4 separate regions of the Homo sapiens genome follow, and all the other regions are linked to region 1. Evidence: promoter capture Hi-C in 16 types of primary human blood cells and fetal thymus (Javierre and others, 2016). All regions are on one chromosome and are shown on one strand. The core of a region is centred on a gene start or on the middle of the fragment in contact, and the rest is flanking DNA. Distances in the headings are between cores, read along the strand shown.

What was found. The method cuts DNA at HindIII sites, captures the fragments that hold promoters and counts their contacts. A CHiCAGO score of 5 or more calls a contact.
Region 2: a contact is called between a fragment that was not itself captured here and the fragment with the promoter of DHRS12 in region 1, in 1 of 17 cell types (activated CD4 T cells). The highest score is 5.4, in activated CD4 T cells.
Region 3: a contact is called between a fragment that was not itself captured here and the fragment with the promoter of DHRS12 in region 1, in 1 of 17 cell types (fetal thymus). The highest score is 6.0, in fetal thymus.
Region 4: a fragment that was not itself captured here is called in contact with the fragment with the promoter of DHRS12 in region 1 in 1 of 17 cell types (fetal thymus); the score reaches 5.4 in fetal thymus.

The regions. Positions count from the first base shown.
Region 1 is chr13:51,802,494-51,805,447 of GRCh38, forward strand. DHRS12 (dehydrogenase/reductase 12) reads right to left here and starts at 1,670. Exons shown (of 9, transcript NM_001377533.1): 1 at 1,561-1,670. It overlaps LOC107984561 (a long non-coding RNA gene), which reads left to right and starts at 1,343. Exons shown (of 2, transcript XR_007063805.1): 1 at 1,343-2,308. RefSeq lists enhancers at 1-35, 2,421-2,550 and a silencer at 1,231-1,870. The HindIII fragment of the contact is 7,862 bases long and covers 467-2,954 here.
Region 2 is chr13:49,501,582-49,504,441 of GRCh38, forward strand. All of the region lies in intron 12 of SETDB2-PHF11 (SETDB2-PHF11 readthrough), which reads left to right. All of the region lies in intron 1 of PHF11 (PHD finger protein 11), which reads left to right. Among named protein-coding and RNA genes, the nearest start is that of PHF11, 7.1 kb to the left of the region's middle. The HindIII fragment of the contact is 1,170 bases long and covers 691-1,860 here.
Region 3 is chr13:49,785,799-49,788,860 of GRCh38, forward strand. All of the region lies in intron 1 of KPNA3 (karyopherin subunit alpha 3), which reads right to left. Among named protein-coding and RNA genes, the nearest start is that of KPNA3, 5.4 kb to the right of the region's middle. The HindIII fragment of the contact is 307 bases long and covers 1,400-1,706 here.
Region 4 is chr13:49,438,908-49,441,651 of GRCh38, forward strand. The region is part of intron 1 of CAB39L (calcium binding protein 39 like); the gene reads right to left. Among named protein-coding and RNA genes, the nearest start is that of CAB39L, 3.8 kb to the right of the region's middle. The HindIII fragment of the contact is 4,167 bases long and covers 1-2,744 here.

The sequences.
Region 1 (2,954 bases), core at 420-2,919:
ACACCCTCAATTTACCCAAATATGAAATTTGCTTAGGACCCATCCACACTTGCCCAGGGTTTAGGAGTCTGTTTAAAACTGCCCCAGGGAATTATTAGGTTCAGCAAAGTTTAGGAAACAGTGATTAGATCCTCCTGCCTTAGGAGCCCAATATAGGGAGGCTTTATAAAAATCCTTGTGCCAAGAGAAACGTTGTAAACTCTAACTCCGCGCTCTCACACTGAAGTCAAAACAAGGTTGTTGTTTTTCTCTCCTATTCACTAAATCCACAACAGCAGGAAAACCCATCTAACTTTGCCAACTGCCTTCCCCTCCCCTCCCTTCCCCCACCAATCTGTGGTGGATTGGGCCCCTTGGCCTCACTTCTACCTTCCCTCAAGGTGGGGAAATCAGAGCGAAAGAGTCCTGGGAGAAATTTTTACAGTCTGCTTTCCTTGGGGCCCACCCCTGGTTGGAAACTGACTTAAGCTTTCATGCTGTGTAATGTGGAAAGATCCAGCAATTAATGGTCATTGCCAGAGGACACCCCTTTGAAAGAAAGAGGCTGCCACTGTATTCCCCTAAAAACTGTGGGACAGGGCTCACGACTACACTCCCCACCATTCTCTGCAGCAGGGGCTCCTGAGACAGAGCTGAACCTTCTCCAAAACGATGTGGGGTGAAGAGCAGGGAGTTGCAACTCCTACCTCCCCTAGGAGTGCTGGCCAGGTTGCCGTGGGAACTGATAAAGCCCCAGTGCAGGGAGAAGCCTCTCAGAGGTGAGAATCACCTGGGGCATTTGGATGAAATGCCAGTCCAGGCCCCTGTGCAGATCCACTAAATCAGAATCTGTAGGGATGGGGCCTGAAAACTGGGTACTTTTAATTCTCGCCCAGTGATTCTGATGTGCAGACAGGGTTGAGAACCAGCGGTTAGCCTAATCAATTCTAAGAGAAAACCTCCATCTCTCCTCCGTCACAGGAACCTGTCACCTCTTAAAACCACAATGAGGTGGAGAGCCAACTAGGGCACACTGAGCGTGGTCACGGGGCGACGAAACCACCACGCACCGTTCCCCAGAAGCACACACTGGCTGGAAAGTTCCAGCTGGAGCCAAAGGTCGCAGTCCAGGTGCTGCATCTTTTTAAAGGAAACACACCCAAAGGCACTAGGACAGAGCCTTAGCTAGCGATTTAGATCCAGCCCTATCTGACGCCGCCAGCAGCACCACGAAGACACTTCCACGAGCACACCCAGCGGGGCGCCGAGGTGCCGCCCAAGAGGCTCCTTGGCGCCGGGGCCGCCTGACGTCAGTGGGACGGCCCTGGGCTTGGGCGCGCCACAGCCCCGCCCCTCGGGCGCCAGTCTCGGTCGCGGGCATTGAGCGGCTGGAGTCTGGCGACTGCCCCACGCCCAGCCGTGGGTCGCTAGACGGCGGGCGCACCCGTCGTTCTGGACACGCTTAGTCGGCCCAGCGAGAGGGCGAAGGAGCCGCGGGCGCGTCCCCGCCAACCCTGCTCGCCCGCGCCGAGGCGGGCCACGTGACAGCCCGGGGCCCCGCGCCCCGCCGCGCCGCCTTACTTGGTGTACTCGCGCAGCCCCTTGGCGAACCACACGACGCTGCGGTACAGGGACATGCCGGGAGCGCCCCACGCCTAGCCCCACCGCGCTCCCGGCGCGGCCTCCGCCCTGGTCCCGCCCCCCGGGAGTCGCCCGCCCTGACATCATCCCGGTTATGTAAGAGCCGCGGCTTCCGGTTCCTTGCTCCACCGGTAAGGCAAGGGGTCTCGGGGCCGGCCGGTCGACTCCGCCCCAGCCTCAGAGGGTGGAGTGAGGGCGGACCGGCCCTGGTGGGGGCCGCAGTCGAGGTCCGCAGTCTCCTCGGGGTCGAAATCGGGCATCAGCGCCGTTTAGAGAACACCGTCCTGCTGGGCATGGCCGGGATGCGAAGATGGCCCTGCAACGCACCTCCTAGAATTTGGTTACCTAGAAAACCATGTGGAATAAAACGACGAGGCTTATGATATTTAAAAGACTTCTGCATCGAATTGGTGTTATCATAAGGGTTATTTTAATAACTGGCATTCTCTAAGTTTCTACACGTGTTGGGGGATGCAGTGCCGTGCCACATTTCCCGTCTCCAGCAAGCGCAGTCAGATTGGCGACATCGCAGGCAAGAGGCAGGGCTGGGGCTCCCACCCGAGAAGTAATTGTCTCCAAAGTTGGACTTTTGCCACTGGTTCTGCGACTTCATGCAATGCCAGGGAGAGCCCCTTGATTTCCCCCAAATCCTCATCAGCCTCTTTCCACCCAAGCCCAGATGAACAGTGTGAGTAAAAAAGAGTGTGGTTGCTGCGTGAACCCAGATCTCAGACTAGTCATCCAGCCCCATTATGTAGGACTCAGACACCCCTGTCCACATCTAACCTCCAGCCCTAACGCCACATTAGAAATGGGGGTCTTACTGCTGCTGTCACTCCTAGTCACCCTGTTAAATTCTATACCGGTTTACCCAAGTCGCCCAGAGACTGGGCCCCACTTACATAAGCTGAAGAGACCAGCTGCTTTAATAGCCTCATTACCTAGGATATAGGATCACTGTCCAACCTCACTCCACAGTGGGCAAGTTTTTACTTCAGAATAACTTTTGAAATAAATTTCCCCGGAACAGCTCGCCCCTCTCAACAGGACTCTGAGGCTCCACTACGTTGCTGTTATTCCTGACAGAGTGATGAAAGGAAATTTAAACAAGTGGCATTTTGTAAAACCACCCCAGCCTGTGTGACTTTCAATGCCTGTCCGATTTGGCTGGGAAAATATTTTAGATCCCCAGGGCTACATACTGTTTTTTATACCCTCCTCTTTGTGTCAGTGATGGAAAAGGTGTCAATCTGCTCTGAATCTCTCTGAACACCTCAGGAAATAGGCTTTTGGCTCGCAGAGAGGGGATGAGAAATAGTTTTGAACCACCAAGT
Region 2 (2,860 bases), core at 26-2,525, 2.3 Mb before region 1:
GAGATTTTAAATTAGTGGCTAACCATTATGAATATAAGTTAGATTCCCATCTCATACATTACAAAACAATTTATTCTATGTTCATGAATAGTTTAATTCTTTTTTTGTTTCATTTTGTTTTGTTTTTTTGAGGAGTTTCGCCCTTGTCGCCCAGGCTAGCATGCAGTGGTGCAATCTCAGCTCACTGCAACCTCCTCCTCCCAGGTTCAAGTGATTCTCTTGCCTCAGCCTCCCGAGTAGCTGGGATTATAGGTGTCCGCCACCATGCCCGGCTAATTTTTGTAATTTTAGTAGAGACAGGGTTTCACCATGTTGGTCAGGCTGGTCTCGAACTCCTGACCTCAGGTGATCCACCCGCCTCGGCCTCCCAAAGTGCTGGGATTACAGGTGTGAGCCACCGCGCCCGGCCAATATTTTAATTCTAAAATTAAATTAAGGCAGGACATGGTGCCTCATGCCTGTAATCCCAGCACTTTGGGAGGCTCAGGAGGGAGGATCACTTGAGCCTAGGAGTTCGAAACCATCCTGGACAACATGGCAAGATCCCTCCTCTACACAAAAATTTAAAAATTAGCTAGATGTGGTTGCATGCACCTGTAATCCCAGCTACTTTGGAGGCTGAGGTGAGAGGATCACTTGAGCTGGGGAGGTTGAGGCTGCAGTGAGCCATGATCATGCCACTGCACTCCAAGCTTGGGTGACAGGGCAAGACCCTGTCTCAAAATAAATAAATTGATTAATTAAAATAAATTAAAATTCTAGAAGAAAACAGAGGTAAGTGTTTTCTATGTCCATCTCACCCAAGAGCAGAAATCATAAAATAAATGATTGTTGTAATTTCATCAAGTAAAACATTTAAATATTCTGTATATCAAAGAATATTATAAACAAAGTTAAAAGACCACATATATGACTAACAAAGGGTTAATACCCTGACTGTTATAAACCAATAAGAAAATAATAATTCAACAGAAAAATGGGCTAAGGACATGAGTGCCTTAGAGAAGAAATGGGATTGTGACCTTACTGCATGTTACATTCGTAAGTCCAGATTATGATCCACTTCTCTCTGCATTTCGTGTTCTTTCCTTTGACTTCATCATCTAACCTTCTGTCCTAACTGTACCTTGATAATACGTTTATTTGTTTGTTTGTTTTGAGACGGAGTTTCACTCTTGTTGCCCAGGCCACAGTGCAGTGGCACATTCTTGGCTCACTGCAACCTCTGCCTCCCAGGTCCAAGGGATTCTCCTGCCTCAGCCTCCCGAGTAGCTGGGATAACAGGCATGCACCACCACGCCTAGCTAATTTTTTTTTTTAATGTAGTAGAGATGGGGTTTCACCATGTTAGCCAGGATGGTCTCGATCTCCTGATCTTGTGATCCACCCACCTCGGCCTCCCAAAGTGCAGGGATTACAGGCGTGAGCACCGTGCCCGACCAAGATTGACCTTCTTAAACAACTTTGTCATCATGTGCTTCTCCTGCTCAGACATCCTCCTTGGCAGCCTTTCAACACGTTTCTCAAATCCTTTCCCAGCTTCCTGTGCAGCCTTTCCTCCTCAGCCTGGCTGCCTTACTGTCTCAGCTCCGATCTCTGGGCCTTTTCCCATATGGCTGCTTCCCTCTACAGTGTTCCTCCTAGCCCATACCCCAACCCACCCCACCTTTCCCTCCTCTCCAGGTTGTACCAGTTCCAGGCCCCTGCCCTTGACAATACTCCTTCCCACGAGGAGCACTTCCTCGGCTACCTCCTTAGCGTGTATTGGAATTCCCACTCACTTGGCAGTTGCACTTTGTGACACTTAATTCTGCCATTTTATTTTCCTAACTGCTATTTAGTCTCCCTGTTTATTTCGTAAGCTTCTTGCAGACACCAGTTCTATCTCACCACATTTCTTTACGTCCTCTGCTCTACTATTCACTAGAGGAGCCCCTCACCACAGATAGCTGTTGAGCACGTACAATGTGACTGGTCCTATTGAGACATGCTTTAAGCACAGAATACACACTGGACTTCAAAGACTCTGTACAAAAGAATGAATAACTTTTATATTGACTAAATGTTGAAAGGATGTAAGTTCTTTGACATATTTGGTTGCATAAAGCACATTATTAGCTTCACCTGTTTCTTTTTTGGGTTTTTTGTTTGTTTGTTTGTGTCGTTTTTGAGACAGAGCCTCATTCTGTTGCCCAGGCTGGAGTGCAGTGGCACAATTTCAGCTCACTGCAGCCTCTGCCTCCTGGGTGCAAGCAATTCTCGTGCCTCAGCCTCCCAAGTAGCTGGAATTACAGGTGTGTGCCACCATACTGGGCTAATTTTTTTGTATTTTTAGTAGTGACATGTTGGCCAAGCTGGTCTTGAACTCCTGACCTCAGGTGATCCACCCACCTCAGCCTCCCGAAGTTCTGGGATTATAGGCGTGAGCCACTAGGCCCAGCCTCCTTTTTGATTTTTTTAATGAGGCTCCTAGAAAGTTTTCAGTGATATCTGTGGCTCACATTTGTGTCTTGTTATATGTTTCTTGTTGGACAGCATCGGTCTAGAGTGCACAACATAGTGACTCAAACACAAGAAATGCTCTCAGGCTGGGTGCAGTGGCTCACACTTGTAATCTCAGCACTTTGGGAGGCCAAGCAGGCTGATCTTGAGCCTAGGAGTTTGAGACCAGCCTGGGCAACATAATGGGACCCCTGTCTCTAAAAAAAAAAATAACAAAAATTAGCCAGACATGGTGGCCTATATCTGTGGTCCCAGCTACTGAGGTGGGAGACTGAGGTGGGAGGATCACTTGAGCCCTGGAGGCAGAGGTTGCAGTGAGCCATCATTGCGCCACTGCACTCCAACCTGAGTGACAGAG
Region 3 (3,062 bases), core at 303-2,802, 2.0 Mb before region 1:
AACACTTTACACTCTCCAAACTTAGGAAGAAGAGGGAAATGCACAGGATGGATGGTCGTTAAGCACCTTTAGACACTGCATATGGTTAAACAGAGCCAAGAGGCAGAACATGGGTGCATGGCCAATATGCATACTCCTGGGCTTGATCCGTTCAACTGTTTCTGTACTTTATGTTCAACTGTTGTTATTTAAGAGTGCTAAACATTAATGTGATACTAAAAATCACATATGAACCAATATGAACTTTGCCTTAACATTTTTTTATTAACCATTCAAGTATGAGCGAGTTCATGTTACAGAAATACATTATAGGAGAACAGGCTGTTCAAGGAGGGCTAGGCAACAGTATCAATGCCATGGAGTCAACACCAAAAGAAAATTAATGTCTTAGAATAATACTGAACCTTTCATTCCCAAATGTAGACTTTTTTCAGGTATATCATCTAGTCTCTCTTCTCATTAAGTTTCATGTTTCAAGTTACATCCAAGGTATCTATTCTCACTGAGCTTCTCAACAGAGCCCAAATACTTTAATAGCTATACAAACACAGAATTTGTTGTACATCACAGCAATTTATCCCAAATAGGTGAAGGAAAATTCACCTAGGAAAACACTAGAGAGGAGGAAAAGAATAGGGACTGATAGTACCAAGTATACTGTAAGTCAGGAAAGGCTCATGGAGAACTTTTAAAGTTTTTTTTTGTTTTTGGTTTTTAACTAGAATGACATGGTGTGGCAGAATTGTAATCTTGGTGTTCCAGAGATATATGAAGGAGTCTCACTGAAGAGATAGGTTGCCAGAGTGAACCCCAACTCAACAGATAGTCAAAAGAAGGCACACAGAACAGCATATACAAAGGCATGAAGAAGAAACTACTGGTTACTCAAGCATCTCCAGTACTTTATCACAGCTGGCACAAAGGAGATATAAGGAAAAGTGCAAGGTGAGGTAAAAAAGGTAAGGTCTTACAACTATGTGTGGCATGCTAAGGACTTTTATCCTGAAGTCAATGGGAAGGATCATAAACAGGAAAGTAACACAGAAAGATATGAGAAAGATCAATCCACAAGATACACTGGGGAGAGAAGATACTGAACACAGAAGAGCTAGGTACACTATTATACTTGTTCAGGCAACAAAGATAAGGGTCTAAACTAGGGGCAGAGGAAGTAAGGTTGGTAACAGGTACAAACATGAGGGTTCTTCAGATAACTAATACAAAGAAGGGTGAAGGAGGGGAAGAGAAGGGAGTCAAGGATAGAATCTTAAACTTGGACAATCAGATAGTGCCACTTAGCACTGGAGGTTCCAGAGACAGAAGCAAGTCTGGTAGAGCTAACTGAATTTTGCAGGTGAGAAAATATATATTAGCCCTGGTATCAGAAACTAAAGCATAAAGCTTAAGTGTTAAGCCCAAAGATACGGATTATCATTTTTTGGTAAAACCAACCAACTGGCTCCTTGCTGATAAGAAGGAAACTTTGCAAGAGTAAAAAGATAAAAAGGCAAATAAATCTAATAGTAAAGTTCATCAAAAATTTGCAAGGTTTTAAAGTATAGAAATAGCAATTTCTGTGATATAGTCGATATTTCTTCAATATTTTCCCCATTCACTAACTTTCAGGCGTGGTTTGTACATGTCAAGTCTTAGACTCCCTTCGGTGGAGTACAGCACAGTAAGCAAGAGTTCTAGCTTTAGCATCAAGCTTTATTTGTTTGTTTTTGAGACAGAGTTTCACTCTGTCGCCCAGACTTGAGTGCAGTGGCATGACCACAGCTCATTGTAACCTCTGCCTCCCCGGTTCAAGTGATTCTCTCGCCTCAGCCTCCCTTGTAGCTGGGATTACAGGCATGAGCCACCAGGACCGGCTAATTTTTGTATTTTTTTTTTTTTTTTGAGACGGAGTTTCGCTCTGTCGCCCAGGCTGGAGTGCAGTGGTGCGATCTTGACTCACTGCAAGCTCCGCCTCCCGGGTTCACGCCATTCTCCTGCCTCAGCCTCCCGTGTAGCTGGGACTACAGGCACGCGCCACCATGCCCGGCTAATTTTTGTATTTTTAGTAGAGACGGGGTTTCACCATGTTGGCCAGGCTGGTCTCGAACTCCTGACCTCGGGTGATCCACCTGCCTCGGCCTCCCAAAGTGCTGGGATTACAGGCGTTAGCCATTGCGCCCAGCCGCTTAGCATAAAGCTTTGATATATTGTAAGTCCAGGCTTTGCCACTTAACACCCGATGGAAGACTTAAGGCCACTTACTTAAGGGTTGTAGGCCTCAAGTTGCCTCAGCAGTAAATGGGGATAATAATAGTACTTACTTGATATAGGACTGTTGTGAAGATTAAATAGATAATCTATATAAAGTACTTAGCACTGATATACTGTAAACAATAAATGTTAAGGTTTTTAAAATAATTAATTACTGTTACTAATGAAAATGTCACACCCTTGAGGTATACAGCAGCAAGAAAATGAGTTGACCTGGATTGCAGTTACCTGAGCATTTGTTTTGTAATTATTCATTAAACAGAACATTTCTGTTTTGCACACTTTTCTATAAGTTATCTTTGAAAACAGGAAAAGTTTTTAAGAATCAATGCCTTACATGAAAAGGTCTAGCATTAAAATGCACATTCCAGGACCGGGCATGGTGACTCATGCCCCTAATCCCAACACTTTTAGAGGCCAAGGCAGGAGGATAACTTGAGCTAGCAGTTTGAAACCAGCCTGGGCAACATGGCAAAACCCCGTCTCTACAAAAAACACAAAAATTAGCCAGGTGTGGTGGCATGTGCCTGTAGTCCCAGCTACTCAAGAGGCTGAGATGGAAGGACGGCTTGAGCCTGGGAGGAGGCGAAGGTTATAGTGAGCCGAGATTGGGCCACTGCACTCCACCCTTGGCGACAGAGCCAGACCCTCTTTTTTTTTTTTTTTTTTTTTAAAAAAAAAAAGCACATTCCAGAACAAATAAAAGGAAATGTTTCCCTTTCAATATGTACTTCCTAGTTTTTGCTACAAAATGCATCCCCTACCCAAGCTCCAAATTTCTATCAGTGATGATA
Region 4 (2,744 bases), core at 110-2,609, 2.4 Mb before region 1:
AATAAGGAACATAAAATTTACTGTTTTAAAGTATTCAATAAGTGGCATTAAGTATATTCAGTGTTACATAAACATCACCACTATCCTTGGGCTTACATTTGGGGAACTCCATTTATATTTATTCTGGCTCTCTTTGCCTGTCTTGTCACCTCTTGACTCCTTTTTAAAAATCTTTTTATTTTCTTCATTTTTCCATTTTTCTTATCGTACTTTCTGTGATGTATATTCACTCTTGGTTTCTAATGCAATCATCACTTTAAACTGTCTTTTTCTTAATCTTTTATTGAGTTTTGTCTGCTCTCATTGCACCTCCTTCTATGGTCTAGCCATCTCATTTCTTTTTTTCCCCTGAAAACATAGAAAGAGGTGAATTTTATTTACTTTTTTATAATTTCAAGTTCTCTTTTAGATTTGGGGGTACATGTGCAGATTTGTTACATGGGTATACTGTGTAACGCTGAAGTCTGGAGTATGACAGATCCTGTCATCCAGGTACTGGGCATTATACTCAACAGTTAGTTTTTCAACACTTATTGCATTCCTTCCCTGCATAGTATTCCACGGTTCATATGTAACCAATCTATCCCTGATGGACACATAGGTTGATTCCACATCTTTGCTATTGTGACTAGCACTATGATGAACATATGAGTGCATGTATCTTTTTGGTAGAACAATTTCTTTTGGATATACACCCAATAATGGGATTGCTGGTCAAATGGTAGTTCTGAGTTTTTTGAGAAACCTTCAAACTGATTTCCACAGTGGCTGAACTAATTTACACTCCCACCAACCGTGTGTAAGTGTTCCCTTTACTCTGCAGCCTTGCCCACATCTGTTGTTTTTTGACTTTTTAGTAAGAGCCATTCTGACTGGCGTGAGATGATGTCTCATTATGGTTTTGATTTGCATTTCTCTGATGATTAGTGATGTGGAACATTTTTTCATCTGTTTATTGGCCACTTGTTCTTTTGAGAAGTGTCTGTTGATGTCTTTTGACCACTTTTTAATGGGTTTTTTTTTTTTTTTTTTTTGCTTGTTGAATTAACTTCCTTATAGATTCTGGATATTAGACCTTTGTCAGATGCATAGTTTGCAAATATTTTCTCCTATTCTGCAGGTTATCTGTTTGCTCTGTTAATAGTTTCTCTTACTGTGCAGAAGCTCTTTAGTTTAATTAGGTCCTACTTGTCAACTTTTGTTTTTGTTGCAATTGCTTTTGAAGACTTAGTCATAAATTCTTTCCCAAGGCTGATGTCCAGAATGTTTCCTAGATTTTTTCCTAGGATTCTTACTGTTTGAGTTCTTACATTTAAATCTTTAATCCATCTTGAATTGATTTTTGTATGTGGTGTAAGGTAGAAGTCCAGTTTTGTATGTGGTGTAAGGTAGAAGCCCAGTCTTATACACATGGCTAGCCAGTTATCCCAGCACCATTTATTGAATAGGAAGTTCTTTCTCCATTGCTTCCTTTTGTCAATTTTGTTGACCAGATGGCTGTGGGTGTACAGCTTAATTTCTGGGCTCTCTATTCTGCTCCATTGGCCTATATGTCTGTTTTTGTACCAGTACCATGCTTTTTTGGTTACTGTAGCCTCAAAGTATAATTTGAAACAAGCTACACATTCAGTAGCACTGAATGTGTAGCTTGTTTTGGGCAGTATGGCGATTCTAATGATATTGATTCTTCCAATCCATGAGCATGGAGTGTTTTTCCATTTGTTTGTGTCATCAATGATTTCTTTCAGCAGTGTCTTGTAGTTCTTGTAGAGATCTTTCACTTCCTTGGTTAGAGGTATTCCTAGGCAGTGTGTGTGTGTGTGTGTGTGTGTGTGTGTGTGTGTGTGTGTGTATGGCTATCGTAAACAGGACTGCATTCTTGATTTGGCTCTCTGCTCCAACATTATTGGTATAGAAACGCTACTGATTTTTGTACAGAGTTTGTATCCTGAAACTTACTGAAGTTATCAGTTCCAAGAGCCTTTGGTGGAGTCTTTAGGGTTTTCTAGGTATACAATCAGATCATCAGCCAAGAGAGATAGTCTGACTTCTTTTCCTATGTGGATGCCTTTTGTTTCTCTTGCCTGATTGCTCTGGCTAGAACTTCCTACGTATCTCATGTCTGAGCTCTTATTTCTGAATTTATGTGGTTCTTTCAAAGATTTCATCTTTTCCTTAAATTCTCTTAGCTTACTCTGAAATATTTAGATTGTCATTTTCATCTGCTTTGTGGCCACATTTTTGGGGTATGTTTTCATAATCTCGTGCAATGTTTTATGGCTTATTTTGATGATTTTCTTATAATGATTTAGTGTATATATATATATATATATATATTCCCTTTTCCCATATATTTATATAACTATATACTAAAAGGAGGTTCCCGGCTAGGTACAGTGGCTTATGCCTATAATGCTAGCACTTCGGGAAGCCAAAGCAGGAGGATCACTGGAGTCCAGGAGTTTGAGACCAGCCTGGGCAACATAGCAAGATGCCATCTCTCCAAAAAATTAGCCAGGCATGGTGGCACATATCTATAGTCCCAGCTACTCTTGAGGCTGAGGAGGGAGGTTCACTTGAGCCTGGGGGGTCAAGGCTGCAGTAAGCTGTGATCATGCCACTGTATTCCAGCCTGGGCAACATAGCGAGATCCCATCTCTAAAGAAAATAAAAAGGAGGTTCCTATGTTACACTGTATGGACATGCTGGAGTTTAAAAAAATCTATTTCCTAGTGGAATCTGGT